Linked DNA regions of Homo sapiens: regions 2 and 3 are each linked to region 1. Evidence: promoter capture Hi-C in human tissues and cell types (Jung and others, 2019). All regions are on one chromosome and are shown on one strand. The core of a region is centred on a gene start or on the middle of the fragment in contact, and the rest is flanking DNA. Distances in the headings are between cores, read along the strand shown.

The links. Contacts are between HindIII fragments. The study calls those that stand out against the background at their distance.
Region 2: a contact is called between a fragment that was not itself captured here and the fragment with the promoter of TM4SF19 in region 1, in 4 of the 25 tissues and cell types used here (aorta, mesendoderm cells, psoas muscle and 1 more).
Region 3: a contact is called between a fragment that was not itself captured here and the fragment with the promoter of TM4SF19 in region 1, in 1 of the 25 tissues and cell types used here (pancreas).

What each region holds. Positions count from the first base shown.
Region 1 is chr3:196,336,395-196,341,438 of GRCh38, forward strand. It overlaps TM4SF19 (transmembrane 4 L six family member 19), which reads right to left and starts at 1,994. Exons shown (of 5, transcript NM_138461.4): 1 at 1,870-1,994. TM4SF19-DYNLT2B (TM4SF19-DYNLT2B readthrough (NMD candidate)) reads right to left here and starts at 2,026. Exons shown (of 6, transcript NR_037950.1): 1 at 1,870-2,026. RefSeq lists enhancers at 1,518-2,717, 2,084-2,378 and a silencer at 2,127-2,298. The HindIII fragment of the contact is 8,804 bases long and covers 1-5,044 here.
Region 2 is chr3:196,389,056-196,394,099 of GRCh38, forward strand. UBXN7 (UBX domain protein 7) reads right to left here. Exons shown (of 11, transcript NM_015562.2): 4 at 4,499-4,564; 5 at 2,758-2,870. It also overlaps the pseudogene RNU6-1279P. Among named protein-coding and RNA genes, the nearest start is that of UBXN7-AS1, 40 kb to the right of the region's middle. The HindIII fragment of the contact is 8,329 bases long and covers 1-5,044 here.
Region 3 is chr3:196,371,532-196,376,575 of GRCh38, forward strand. UBXN7 (UBX domain protein 7) reads right to left here. Exons shown (of 11, transcript NM_015562.2): 6 at 365-511. Among named protein-coding and RNA genes, the nearest start is that of TM4SF19-DYNLT2B, 36 kb to the left of the region's middle. The HindIII fragment of the contact is 7,607 bases long and covers 1-5,044 here.

The DNA.
Region 1 (5,044 bases), core at 744-3,243:
CCTAAAGTGCTGGGATTACAGGTGTGAGCCACAGCGCCCAGCCCAGAAAACTCTTAAAGGGGAAACTAAAAATGATGGACAGCGAGGGAAAACTACCAGCTGGAGCATGGCTTTTGGATGAGTGGAATTCAGAGCCCTGGCTGTCCGCCAATCAAACACTAAAAGCACTTGCCGCACTGCGGCTTCGTGTGAATTTCACCCCTCCTCCTGACTTTATTCCCCTAGAAATTATAACATTTGGAGAAACCCTTCCAAAAATGTGAACCAGGAGGTTAGCAAAGAGGTGGCCTAATTTGATATCTGAAGAGACAAGCAAGATCAGAAGGTAAAACCTTAAAACCAGGCTGCTGGGGAGTTCCTTGTTCTGTCCTGAGGTCCTAGCTAGGTGAGCACGTCATCGGCTAGATGTCCAGGCAACAACAGAAGTGATCGGCTCAATTCCATGGAGGAAGAGACCGCACATTCTCTACATCTGTGTCTCTCCCTCGCCACCCAGCAAGGCTTTTCTTTCATTCTTCCTTCAGTCGGATATTTATTAAGTGATCACTACCTGACAGACACTTGGGGGGCTAGGGATATAACGATGAAAAAGATGTAATCCCTTTCCTTGAGGAGCTTAAAGTCTAGTGGGGACACTGCTGACGCAAAAAGCAATTCTTTTTTTTTTTTTTTTTTTTTTTTTTTGAGACACAGTCTCGCTCTTGTTGCCCAGGCTGGAGTGCAGCGGCATGCTCTTGGCTCACTGCAACCTCCGCCTCTCGGGTTCAAGTTATTCTCCTGCCTCAGCCTCCCAAGTAGCTGGAATTACAGGCATGCACCACGCCCGGCTAATTTTGTATTTTTAGTAGTGATGGGTTTTCGCCATGTGGGTCAGGCTGGCCAAAAAGTAATTCTAATCAAGTGTGGTAAGAAATAGAGCAGACATGAGCAGGGCGGGAGAGGGCCTCTACCCCAGTAATGTCAGGTGACTATCAGGTGATGGCCAGGCGGTTGTTACACTGTCTTTCTAAAATAATATTGGTCACAGCCAGCGTTGGGAAAGACAGTCTCCCAATAGATAGAAAATACCTGAACTTGGTGATCAGCAGCTTCCTGGTAAGAGCTCAGGAATTGGGCGAGTGGGCTCAAGCATCTACACTAAGAAGCAAAATGGTGGAGTTTAGCTGGTGTGTGTGACCTTCCTCTAGTGCTGCTCCGCGGGTAAGGGAAAAACGCCTCAAGTGAGCATGCGCACGACTTCAGTAAACACACTGCGCATGCGGCCCCTCCCAAGTGCCTGTGCGGCAGGCAGGCGCCAAGTCAAGGGTCTAACAGCACATTTGGGTGTCTCAAGTCACGCACTTGGCCCTTTTCCAAGTGTACTTTACTTCCTTTCATTGCTGCTCAAAAACTTTTTAATAAACCTTCACTCCTGCTCTCAAACTTGCTTCAGCCTCTCCCTCTGCCTTAAACCCACTTCTGCCCCTCAGCCGAATCTCTCCCCCGAGAAGGCAAGGATTGAGTTTGCTGCAGACTCGCTGGATTCACAGCTGGTAACAGTAAGTACCAGGCAGGGGCATCCAACTTAAGGTGTCATGGAAGCACATGGAGGAACCTAATCCTATCTGGCAGAAGCAAAACGAAGCTTCCCGGAGGAAGGGCTGCCCATGCCCAAACTTGATGGACGATGAGATACTAGGCAGGAAGAGTATTCTAGGTGCAAAGGCCAGAAGTTGACAGACTGAGGCAACAGGAGAAGGTAAGTGAATGGCGCAAAGTCACACAGACGCCAAGCTGCAGAGCCAGGCTCACTGGAGTGGAAGCGTGCACTCTCATCTGTGAGGCTAGGCTGTTCCCTGGCCGTCACCTCACCCTTTCATCTCTGCTTACCTGCATCTGGTGTCAAGAATCAGAATGGGAGAGACAGAACCTGGAGAAAGGCTGCGTCTTCAGAGTGGGGCTCCACTCCTCCAGCTCCAGGGCTGGACCTGAAGGTTGTCTTTCCAGGACTCTTTCCAGGAGGGCCAGGGAGGCTCTGTATATACGTAGAGGTCACCCAGGCGTGTGTGTGTGCGCGCCCCCACGCCCCTGCCCACAGGCCTGCATTGAAGGCGCTTCCGCTCCCCGGAGAGCCCTGTCCTGATGACCCACCCTCTGCTCATTTTCATGTGATTCTAAGGCAGGAAACGGGAGACATGGCCTCATGAGCTCCGCTGTCCTGATGAGTCACTGGATGCACCCGTGAGAAACACCTCACCCTCCGCTCTCCCCAGGCAGCAACACTTGCCACACCCCAGCTGTTCCTGTCCTCATCTGCCACCCCGCGAAGAATTTCGGCTCTTTGACAGAACAGCACCGAGCAGGGCAGCCACCCCTTTTTCCTCATCACTCTCCTTACCTTGCCCTTGGCTGACTCGATGTGTTGCATGGTTCCTGTACTAGACGTCTAACTTTTTTTTTTTTTTTTTTTTGAGACAGGGTCTCACTCTGTCACCCAGGCTGGAGTGCAGTGGCATGATCTCGGCTCACTGCAACCTCCGCCTCCCACACTCAAGCAATCCTCCCACCTCAGCCTCCTGAGTAGCTGGGATTACAGGCACCTGCCACCATGCCCGGCTAATGTTTGTATTTTTAATAGAGACGGGGTTTTGCCATTTTGGCCAGGCTGGTCTCGAACTGCTGACCTCAGGTGTTCGCCTCAGCCTCCCAAAGTGCTGAGATTACAGGTGTGAGCCACCGCACTCAGCCTCTTGTTCAAGCCCCAGGCCACTATCATCTTGTACCATACTCTCACCAAATTGCTGAGGATTTTGTGGTGCTCTCTGTGTGGGAGATCCGTGACCCTCTATGGACAAGCTCCTATTCAAGATTCAGTTCAAACATTCCCAGTGAAGTCTGCCAGGATTTCTTTACTCCGAGTTAGGTACTTCTTTCTCTATGCTCCCATTGCATTTTAAACATCTAGATATTATATACAGTAAAGTGCACAAATCTTTTCTTTTCTTTTTTTTTTTTTTGAGACGGAGTTTCACTCTTGTTCCCAGGCTGGAGTGCAGTGGCACAATCTCAGCTCACTGCAACCTCTGCCTCCTGGCTTCAAGCAATTCTCCTGCCTCAGCCTCCCAAGTAGCTGGGATTACAGGCACGTGCCACCACGCCTGGCTAATTTTGTATTTTTAGTAGAAACACGGTTTCTCCATGTTGGTCAGGCTGGTCTCAAACTCCCGACCTCAGGCGATCCACCCGCCTCCGCCTCCCAAAGTGCTGGGATTACAGGTGTGAGCCAGCACGCCCAGCCTAAAGTGCACAAATCTTAATGTTAAAGTCTGATGAATTTTTACATGTATACCCTGGTGAACCAGCACAGAAATCAAGATACAGGACATTCCAAATCCCCAGAGGTTTCATTGTGTCGCCTGTCATTCGTATCCCTTGTCCCCAGTGTTAACTTTCATTTTGGCTCTTATAATAATTGATTAGGTTTTAGTTGTTCTTGAATTTCACATAAATGGAATCAAACAGTTTTCTTTAAAAAAAAAAAAAAAAAAGGCGGTTTTGCTGTGTCATCCAGGCGGGAGTGCAGTGGCACAATCATGACTCACTGCAGCCTTTTGCCTTCATAGGCTCAAGTGATCCTCACACTTCAGCCTCCTGAGTAGCTGGGACCACAGGCAAGCGCCACCACGCCAGCTGATTTTTTAATTTCGTGTACAGATGGGGTCTCACCATGTAGCCCAGTCTGGTCTCGAACTCCTAGGCTCAAGTGATCCTCCTGCCTCGGCCTCCCAAAGTGCTGGATTACAAGCGTGCGCCACCGCGCCCAGCCCAGTATGGCTTTTGTGTGTGGCTTTCTTCACTCAATATTCTATATGTAAGATTCATCCATCATGTAATTTATTTTTCTTTTATTGCTGAGTATTATTACATTGGATATTACAACTTTTTCTACTCTTAATGGACATTTATATTTTCAACTTTTGCCTGTTATAAATAATGCTGCTATGAATATTCTTCTGCATGTCTTTTGAAGGAACTATGCACTAATTTTTCCAGGGAATATTCTTAGGAGTAGGATTGCTATCATAGGGCAGGTGAATATTTAATTTTGGCAGATATTGCCAAACAGATTCCCAAAGTAGTCCTAATTTACACACCCACCAGCAGTGTGTGACAGTTCCAGTTTCTACACATTCTCACAAACATTTTTAATTTTAGGCATTGTGGTGGGTGTTTAGTGTAATCTCCTTGTGTTTGAATTTGCATCTCCTTGATGAGTAAGCACCTTTTCATATACGTATTAGCCATTTGAAGATCCTCTTTGAGAAGTTCCCGTCCATGGTTTTTGCCCATTTGTTATGGGTTATCTTTTTTTCTGTTTTCTGGTTCATTATAATTCCAGGTATGAGACCTTTATCAGGTAAATTTATTGTGAATGTTTTCCCCCAGTTTGTGGTTTGACTTTTTACTCTCTTTATTATGTCTTATTTTATTTTATTTTATTTTATTTTATTTTATTTTATTTTATTTTATTTTATTTTATTTTATTTTATTTTATTTTTTGAGACAGAGTCTAGCTCTGTTGCCAGGCTAGAGTGCAGTGCCACGACGATCTTGGCTCACTGCAACCGCCATCTCCCGGGTTCAAGAGATTCTCCTGCCTTAGCCTGCCGAATAGCTGGGATTACAGGCATGGGCTGCCACGCTCAGCTAATTTTCGTATTTTTAGTAGAGACAGGGTTTCACCATGTTGGCCAGGATGGTCTCAATTTCCTGACCTCGTGATCCACCCTCCTCGGCTTCCCAAAGTGCTGGGATTACAGGCGTGAGCCACCCCGCCTGGGCTTACTTGAAGAGAAAGTACTGATTTTAATTAAGCTCCATTTATGCATCTTCTTTTATGGTCAATATTTTTGTGTCTGCTTAGGAAATCTTTGCCCACTTCCCACTGGAGTGTGACTCACTTCTTACTCCACCGCTGTGAGGTCCTTGCAGGCAGGGACTAACTCTTACTCTGCTCTGTATATTCTGAGCCTCACACAGAGCTTGGAACATGGTAGAAGCTCAA
Region 2 (5,044 bases), core at 701-3,200, 53 kb after region 1:
TGCTTTTTCACTCCAAAGTGACCAAACTAAATCAAGCTTAGTTACTGCATTACGTCCTAGAGCAACTCATAAGCTAATAAAAATAGAACACGTGCCAAAACAAACTAAGATCCTTTTCTGCCTTTAATATTGCTGCTATTCTCTCTCTCAATGGCTGTAGTATCACCAGAATACTAGAAAGGATAGGCAGCTGCCATGTTGAGACCATGAAGGAAAGATGAAGAAAACTGAGGAGACATCTAACCTGACATCTTTGAGCTTATGAATGAACAGCAATAATTTCTTCAACTCTAGGCTTATTACTGACAAAAAGAAAGCATTGTTTGGTCAAATTATCATCATTTGGGTTTTCTGTTACATGCAGCCAAACCACTTTCAAGGTTTTCTGATTCAGAAAATTGAAACTGGAGAGCACGCTGATATGGTTTGGAAATTTGTCCCCTCCAAATCTCACACTGAAATGTAATCCCCAGTGTTGGGGGTGGGGCCTCGTAGGTGGTGTTTGGGTCATGGGGGCAGACCCCTAGTGAATGGCTTGACCCCTTGCTCCTCGCACCATGTGCTACACCGGCTTCCCCTTTGCCTTCTGCCATGACTGCAAGCTTCCTGAGGCCTCACCAGAAGCAGATGTCAGCACAATGCTTTCTATACAGCCTGTAGAAACGTTGAGTCAAAATATACCTTTTTCTTTATAAATTGCCCAGTCTCAGGGATTCCTTTCTAGCAATGCAAGCAAACTAACACACAAGCTTACATTGAAATTCCTTCTCCTAAATACTTCATGTATGACAGTGTAAAAGTATATCAAAGGACACATTTAAAAAAAAATAATCATAACATATTCAAATATGCAGCTGATATACATCGGTTGTTTATTTTAAGAAATGGGGTTTCAGCTCATGCCTGTAATCCCAGCACTTTGGGAACCAAGGCAGAAGGATCACTTGACACCAGGAATTTGAGACCAGCCTGGGGAACACAGCAAGACCCCCTCTCCACAAAATATTTTTAAAATTGGCCAGGTGTGGTAGTGGGTGTCTGTAGCCCTACTTATTTGGGAGGTTAAGACCAGGGGATCAATTGAGACCATAAGTTGGAGGCTGCAGTGAGCCATGATTTTGCCACTGCACTCCATCCCAGGTGACAGAATGAGAACCTGTCTCAAAAAAAAAAGACAAAGAAAAGGGAAAGATAGGGTCTCACTATGTTGCCCAGGCTGGAGTGCAGTGGTTTTCATAGGCATGATCATCACACACCACAGCCTCAAACTCCTGAACTCAAGGGATCCTCCCACCTCAGCCTCCCAAGTAGTAGTTAGTTTGGGGCACCTGTTGGGCTTGATACACATCATTCTTGCAGTTATTCTTTGGCCTACAGGGTCCTAACAGGTAAGACTTAACTGAAGGCTGGGCGCGGTGGCTCACGCCTGTAATCCCAGCACTGTGGGAGGCTGAGGTGGGCAGATCATGAGGTCAGGAGTTTGAGACCAGCCTGGCCAATATGGTGAAACCCCGTCTCTACTAAAAATACAAAAAATTAGCCAGGCGTGGTGGTGCGCACCTGTTTTCCCAGCTACTCAGGAGGCTGAGGCAGGAGAATTACTTGAACCTGGGAGGCGGAGGTTGCAGTGAGCTGAGATCGTGCCACTGCACTCCGGCGAGACTCCATCTCAAGGAAAAAAAAAAAAAAAAGACTCAACTGAAATGTAACTGATTTACATCTATGGAAATGCTATTGTAATTCAAAAGAGCATTAACATGTTAATCAACACGAAAAGGCAAGCTGTTTGAACACCTCAACAGAAGAGTATCTAAAATCTTTACTAAACTCCTTCATTTAACATATGTGTTCCTCCTAATGCAAGAGAATGGGTCCCAAGGATTATTAAAAAGAATGATCTTTCCTCTGCCCTAAGTAAGTCTGTAAGTTAGCATACAACCAAGTAAACATACTCTGGAAAGTTTTTGTTTGGGTTTAGTCACGATAAAACCAAGAAGAACTGAGGGTGAATGTGTTCTCCAATTAGAGATATTCTTTTCAAACACATTACGATCCGCACAGAAATATAGACAAAAGACACCTATCAACAATTTACAAATGGCTAACAAACCACACACACTATTCTCAGTAGTAGTCAAAGATATATGAACAAGTGAGATATTTTAAAAAGCTATCAAAATGGCAAAGATTCTAAAATGACACCGCACAAGGCTAATAAAAGGATTTCATCAATCTCATATACTGCTGGTAGAAATATATTTCATATATTGCTGGTAGAAATATAAATCAATGTAACCTTTAGGCATATCATGTAGATATACTTATTATAATGCCAATTCCCTATACACTGACAATGGTTTTTTGTTCTTATAAAAATAAAAAATGCCACTGAAGGCCAGGTGCAGTGGCTCACACCTATAATCCAAGCAGTTTGGGAGGCTGAGGCAAGAGGATTGCTTGAACCTAGGCATTCGAGACCAGCCTGGGCGACACAGTGAGACCCTGTCTCTACCAAAAAAATTTTTTTAATTAGCTGAGTGTGGTGGCACATGCCTATAGCCCTAGCTACTCGGGAAGCTGAGGTAGGAGGATCCCTTGAGCCCAAGAGTTCAAGGCTGCAGTGAGCTATGATTGTGTCACTGCAGTCCAGCCTGGACGACAGAGCGAGACCTGCTCTAAAACAAGTAATTTTTTAAAAAAAGGCATTGAAAATGCAAAAGGATTCATAGTTAAGGCACTGACTCTCCAACAACTTACTGTTTCAAAGCTGCCTTTATGCATCAAATCAATGGGTGGCCGGAATAGATCTGCAAGGGTAGTTAATTTCTTATCGATAGCTCCTCCATTTCTTAATTCTTGTTCTTGCCGAACTATAATACAGAAGGATGAAAGTTTCAGTTAGCCATAATCATGAATCACACTGAAAAAAAAAAAAAAAAAAACACAAACTTCTGTCAATTGAAGGAATTGCTGTCAATATGCTTGACCTCAAATACAAAGATCTAATGTTGACTCTGAAAAAAAAAAATGCAAAGGGAGATAAGAGGAATCTTAAGACTTGGTGGTATTCCCTATCCCAAGGATACAAAGAAAATTAACTGAAAATATTCACTTAATCAAAGTAACCTCTTCACATATTCAGAAACTAACTGTAACATGGGAGAGGCTGAGTGCGGTGGCTCATGTCTATAATTCTAGAACTTTGGATGGCCGAGGTCAGCAGATCACCTGAGGTCAGGAGTTTGAGATCAGCCTGGCCAAGATGGTGAAACCCCGTTTCAACTAAAAATACAAAAAAAAAAAGCCGGGCATGGTGGAGCATGCCTGTAATCCCAGCTACTCGGGAGGCTGAGGCAGGAGAATAGCCTGAACCCTGGAGGCAGAGGTTGCAGTGAGCAGAGATCGCGCCACTGCACTCCAGCCTGGGCAACAGAGTGTGAGACTCCATCTCAAAAAAAAAAAATTAGCCAGGTGTAGTGGCGCATGCCTGTAGTCCCAGCACTATGGGAGGCTGAGATGTGCGGATCACCTGAGGTCAGGAGTTCAAGGCCAGCCTGGGCAACATGGTGAAACCTCATCTCTACTAAAAATACAAAACTTAGCCGGGTGTGGTGGCACAAGCCTGTAGTCCCAGCTACTTGGGAGGCTGAGGCAGGAGAATCGTTTGAACCTGAGAGGTGAAGGTTGCAGTAAGCTGAGATCATGCCACTGCACTCCAGCCTGGGTGACAGAGCGAGACTCCATCTCAAAAATAAATAGTAATAATAAAAAAAAGATTATGACAGTAGAGATGATGACCACTGTTGTCACCTTCCACTGGAAGGACACAGGATTCCCTAGATGACTTGAGTCAGTTTAGGTTCCCCATCAATTCTCTCCAAAGTCACAAGACCTATCTGTGCCTCAATGAACTCATTCTAAATAAACTACAAAATCAAGCATGGTCCAAGGGTTTCTCATATATCCTAACCTAACTGTCCTTTCTTTAGGATTCCATTGCTAAATCAATACTAAATCCTCTAAAAGCATAAGACCAAGATTCTCATTCTAATTTATTACACAAAAATATTTCAAATAACTGTAGCCAAAATATTAATAGTGGCTGCTTTGGGTGGCATGGCTTTTCCTCCTATTTTTCAATCTCTTATAATAACCATTTTCATTATATATTCCTTTCATTGACAGAAGTCAGGATCCTGAGGGAAATCAGTTTATTTTATTATAGTAAGCATTTTAAGTGTTTATTCACAAGCGAATTAAGTTTATCAATTACCATATTTCCTACATTATCTCCATCTCCTTTACTATTTTTCTATAACCAAATAGGTTAGAATTTGGAACAATTTAGCTCAGGGGAGAATTAATCACATTCTGGATCCATAATTTCACTTTTTAAAGAAGGTGAAAACTTAAAAGTAATTGGGCCTAATAGTAATCATCTTTGTCTTTTTAATAGGAAGAGAAGAGGGAGATGATAAACTGGTCCATAGATACCTACTAGTTTCAGTCTGAAAATCCCGGAAACCATCAAAAATTGAACGTGCAGGCCGTCGTCTTTTAGGAGCTTTGGGGAGAAAAAATAGAATTGAAAATTTTTTAAATTAATTTTGAAACAATTCTAAAAATGTCCTTATCTAAAAGTATTTTTTTAATAAAACATATGAAACCCTTCACGAACTGCATGTCACCCTTGCACAGGGGCCGTGCTAATCTCTGTCTCGTTCCAATTTTAGTAAATGTGCTGCCGCAGCGAGCACAGTATTTCTTGTTTTAAAACACTCAAGATTCATATGGTGCCTTCCCTCAAAAAATAAAAAAGTTTAAAAACTTTCAAATCATTCATGTATAATTAATCCAAACATCTTCCATCCAGTCATCTTGTATTACAAATGAGAAAATTCAGGCCCAGTTACAATAGACTTAATCAAACTTGTGTAAAAAGTTTACTATCGGCTGGGCATGGTGGCTCATGCCTGTAATCCCAGCACTTTGGGAGGCCAAGGTGGGTGGATCACCTGAGGTCAGGAGTTTGAGACCAGCCTGA
Region 3 (5,044 bases), core at 1,123-3,622, 36 kb after region 1:
AGTGTAATGGTGTGATCTTGGCTCACTGCAGTCTCCGCTACCCGGGTTCAAGTGATTCTCCTGCCTCAGCCTCCCGAGTAGCTGGGATTACAGGTGCCTGCTGCCACACCTGGCTGATTTTTTGTATTTTTAGGAGAGACAGGGTTTCACCATGTTGGCCAGGCTGGTCTCAAACTCCTGACCTCAGGTGATCCGCCGGCCTCAGCCTCCCAAAGTGCTGGGATTATAGGCGTGAGCTACTGCCCCCAGCCGGCTTTACCTTTTTTTAAATGTCTTAATTCATTATAACCCAATTCCTTTCCCTCAACAACCCACACTACAAAAGTAAAATTCTACAAAACTTCTGATTAACTCTCCTTCTCACCTGCCAGAAAATGAAATGTTCCCGGATAATATTCTTCACAGCTTCGTTGCTCCACACATCGCGGTTGAGGCACTGACATGCAAAGTCTTGAACATTTTGAATGTTTATCATCAGCCACTTATTTTGCATCTGGCCACACTCTTTGGCCTGCAAGAGTAAAGTTACACATTTGTTAGAAATAATTTCTACTTAGTGACAGATGTTTCCGTAGTTGTTCAGAGGTTGTTGTCTTTCATTAAAAATACTAAGTTTTTGCCAGATACGACATCTAGAGTTTTCAGCATTTATACATTCTATATATTTACTTCGCATATGCATTTATAGCTATACTGTCCATTTCAAGCACTGCTCAAATTTAAATGAACTCATTTCTCTTTTATCCAGTTATTTGTTATAATAGCTGATTCTCTCTCTCTCTCTCTCTCTCTCTCCTTTCTTTCTTTCTTTCTTTTTTTTTTTTTTTTGAGACAGAGTCTAACTCTATTGCCCAGGCTAGAGTACAGTGGGGCAGTCTCGGCTCACTGCAACCTCCACCTCCTGAGTTCAAGTGATTCTCCCGCCGCAGCCTCCCAAGTAGTTGGGATTAAAGGCGTGCCCCAACACGCCTGGCTGATTTTTGTATTTTTAGTAGAGATGGGGTATCAACATGTTGGCCAGGCTGGTCTCGAACTTCTGACCTCAAATGACCCGTCCACCTTGGCCTCCCAAAGTGCTGGAATTACAGGTGTGACTCATCATGACCGGTAATGGCTGAATTTTTAATGTATGTTTAAACATCTTTACCTGAAAAGGATTCAACAAACTTAAGATCAACAAGTCACGTAATTTTATTCTCTTGCAACCTCCATCAACAATTTTTTTTTTTTTTGAGACGAGCTTTGCTCTTGTTGCCTAAGTCGGAGAACAATGGCACGATCTCGGCTCACTACAACCTCCACCTACTAGGTTCAAGTGATTCTTCTGCCTTAGCCTACCGAGTAGCTGGGATTACAGGTGTGTGCCACCATGCCTGACTAATTTTTTATATATTTTTAGTAAAGAGACGGGGTTTCACCATGTTGGCCAGGCTGGTCTCAAACTCCTGACCTCAGGTGACGCACCCATCTCAGCCTCCCAAAGTGCTGGGATTATAGGCGTGAGCCACCGCGCCCAGCCAATTATACTTCTTTTTAATGAATGCAATTGGTGTGTATATTTTACTTTGTTTTCTTCAACATCATTTCTGGAACATTTTTAAACATCATATTAATCTCAGTTATTAGGCATATATGCTGTTTTGGAGAATCACCCTAAACATTTTAGTAAAAACTGCTGAGAGTTTTTTCTCTTAAGAGTTGTCTTCCTAGGAGTAGATTCCAAAAATTGGGATTACAAGGTCAAAGAATGTTTGAGAATGATCCCCAAACAACTCTACGATTCGTACAACAGATATCGATACATCAATCGTTAGTGCGTACTTTTTGCCTGTCAGTCCCTTGTCAGCATAAAGACCCATGAAATGCTGCTGAGTGGAAAACAATGGCAGAAAAGCAAATAAGCAAATGCTGCCTCAAATCTTTGCCTAGGAAAGAACAGTGACACGAAACCACAGTTTTGGAATAAATTTATCCTAGAACAGTATTCTTTTCCAAATCAGTGTGACATGGGAAAATCTTAAGAATCAATGAATTTGGTGTAATAACAATCCAAGAACATACTGGACATCATTTTGTGGGTACTGAAAAATGTGAGACTGAGAATATCTTCTGTTTTAAGAAGGTCTACATCATCTCACAAATAGCTTTTTTTTTGTATGAATCCCCCAGAATAAATTATTTTCTTTTTTTGTTGTTTATATTTTTTGTAGAGACAGGGGTTTCACTATGTTAGCCAGGCTGGTTTGGAACACCTAGCCTCAAATGATCCTCCTGCCCTGGCCTCCAAAAGTCTTGGGATTACAGGTGTCAGTCACCCCACTCAGCCCCAGAATAAATTATCTTCTAATATTTGCTTACTGATTCCATGGGTGAAAACCCAAGGTCTAAAAAGAAATATCCTCATATTGAGCCAGGAAGCCGCATTTAACTGGTCAAAGGCTTATTTTAAAATATACAAATATAATAATTCCTTGCTTATAGGAAGTAATATTTCCATTTACTTCCTTATAGGACAAAGATTTAAAAAGTGAATGATAAATGAATAATTAAGCTGCTTTAACTACAGAAACAGTATTTGAAAATAAACGGAAAAATGACCATACGTTCTAGAGATAGACTAGAGCGCACATATTCCTACAGCAGGGTAAATTTACATAAGTCTGCCCCAAAAACAATGACAAGAAAAAAATGTACAAAACTGAAAATGAATAAAAGTCCAGAGTTTAAAATGGAAGAGTCACTTTTTTTTTTCGCTTTTAAAAATTTGTTTACTCACATTCATGCTTTCATTATCTCAGATTTATTCATTCAACAAATACTGAGTACCTATCATGTTTCAGGTACAGTTATAGATATTAAAGTAATAGCAGTTCTAAAATATAAAAATCTTTGCCTTTGTGAAGCTTCCAATGGGGGAGAAACCTAATACTAGCAAAAGAAACTTGGAAATGATACTAACCACATTGAAGATATTGTTAAAAAATTGTTACTGCTAAAAGGAAGGGTGCAAAGACACAATTTTCAAACAAAACAACAATATTGGGAGGGAATAAAAGAGTCTTGAATAGGCCAGGTGCAGTGGCTCACACCTGCAATCCCAGCACTTTGGGAGGCCGAGGTGGGTGGATCACCTGAGGTCAGGAGTTCAAGACCAGCCTGGTCAACATGGTGAAACCCCATCTCTACTAAAAACACAAAATTAGCCAGGCATGGTGGTGGGCACCTGTAATCCCAGCTACTCAGGAGACTGAGGCAGAATTGCTTGAACCTGGGTGGCAGAGGTTGCAGTGAGCCAAGATCGTGCCATTGCACTCCAGCCTGGGCAACAGAGTGAGGGGAGGGGAGGGGAGGGGAGGGGGAGGGGAGGGGGGGAGGGGGAGGGGGAGGGGGAGGGGAAGGGAAGAAGGAAGGAAGGAAAGAAAGAAAGAAAAAAAGGAAGGAGGGAAGGAAGGAAGGGAGGGAGGGAGGGAGGGAGGAAGGAAGGAAGGAAGGAAGGAAGGAAGGAAGGAAGGGAAAGGAAAGGAAAAAGGAGAGGAAGAAAGAAGAGTCTTGAATAAGTCTAGAGATCTCATGTACAACATGAGGACTATACTTAATAATATCGTATTATACATTGAAAATGTGCTGAGAGCAGATTATTAGGTGCTCTTACCACACACACACACACACACACACACACACACACACACACACACGTAAAAAGACAATTATGGAAGGTAAGGACAGGTTAATTTGCTTGACTGTAGTAATCATTTTACTATGTATATCCAATCTTCATGTTATACATCTTAAATATGTACAGTAGTCTGGAGCAGTGGCTCACACCTATAATCCCACTGCCTTGGGAGGCCAAGACAGGAGGATTGCTTAAGGCAAGGAGTTCGAGACCACCCTGGGCAACACAGCAAGACCCCATCTCTAAAAAGATTTAAAATAATTGAATATATGCAATTTAAAAAGAGAGAGTCTTAAAAATAATCTAAGTATACCAATTATGTGAATCAAGGACTGGAGGTGAGAGTGGGCCATGAGAAAAATAATCTCCTCATGGAAGATTATCATTGAAGAAGATTACTGGAATCCTTGGAATCTATTAGGTTGTTCTGAATCAACATTTCAAAGCCATTATAATGGAGACCCCAGAGTAAAACAGCGGGAGACTAACGTCTGTCCCAGTACCAGCCAGATCAGGAAGGCATGATAAAAAAGGATTTAGGCCTGGCATGGTGGCTCATGCCTGTAATCCCAGCACTTTGGGAGGCCGATGTGGGCTGATCATTTGAGCCCAAGAGTTCAAGACCAGCCTGGTCAACATGGCGAAACCCCATCTCTACTAACGATACTAAAATTAGACGAGCGTGGTGGCGCATGCCTGTAATCCCATCTACTTGGGTAGCTGAGGTACAAGTATTGCTTGAATCTGGGAGGCAGAGGTTGCAGTGAGCTGGGATCATGCCACTGCACTCCAGCCTAGGCAACAGGGCAAGACTGCCTCAAAAAAAGAAAGAAAAAGAAAATGAAGGATTTGAACAAATTTAATATGTTTCAGTAAGTATATATGCATAAAGTCGAGAAGAAAATATATTAAAATATACACAGTACTTTTTTATGGAAATGGAAATTACAATTTTATTTTTCCTTGTTCATTTTCTAAATTTCAATGATTTGTCTAATTTGAATAAAACTAAATGTAAACAATATAAAGTTTAATCAGAAAAATGTTATATATTGCCAGGGGCAGTGGCTCTTGCCTGTAATCACAGCACTTTGGGAGGCCGAGGTGGGTGGATCACCTGAGGTCAGGAGTTCGAGACCAGCTTGACCAATATGGTGGTGAAACCTCGTCTCTACTAAAATTTAAAAAATTAGCCAGGCGTGGTGGTGTGTACCTATAGTCCCAGCTACTCGGGAGGGTGAGACAGGAGAATCGCTTGAACCCAGGAGGCGGAGGTTGCAGTGAGCTGAGATCGCGCCACTGCACTCTGGCCTGGGCGACAGAGCGAGACTCTGTCTCAAAAAAAAAAAAAAAAAAAAAAAGAAAAGA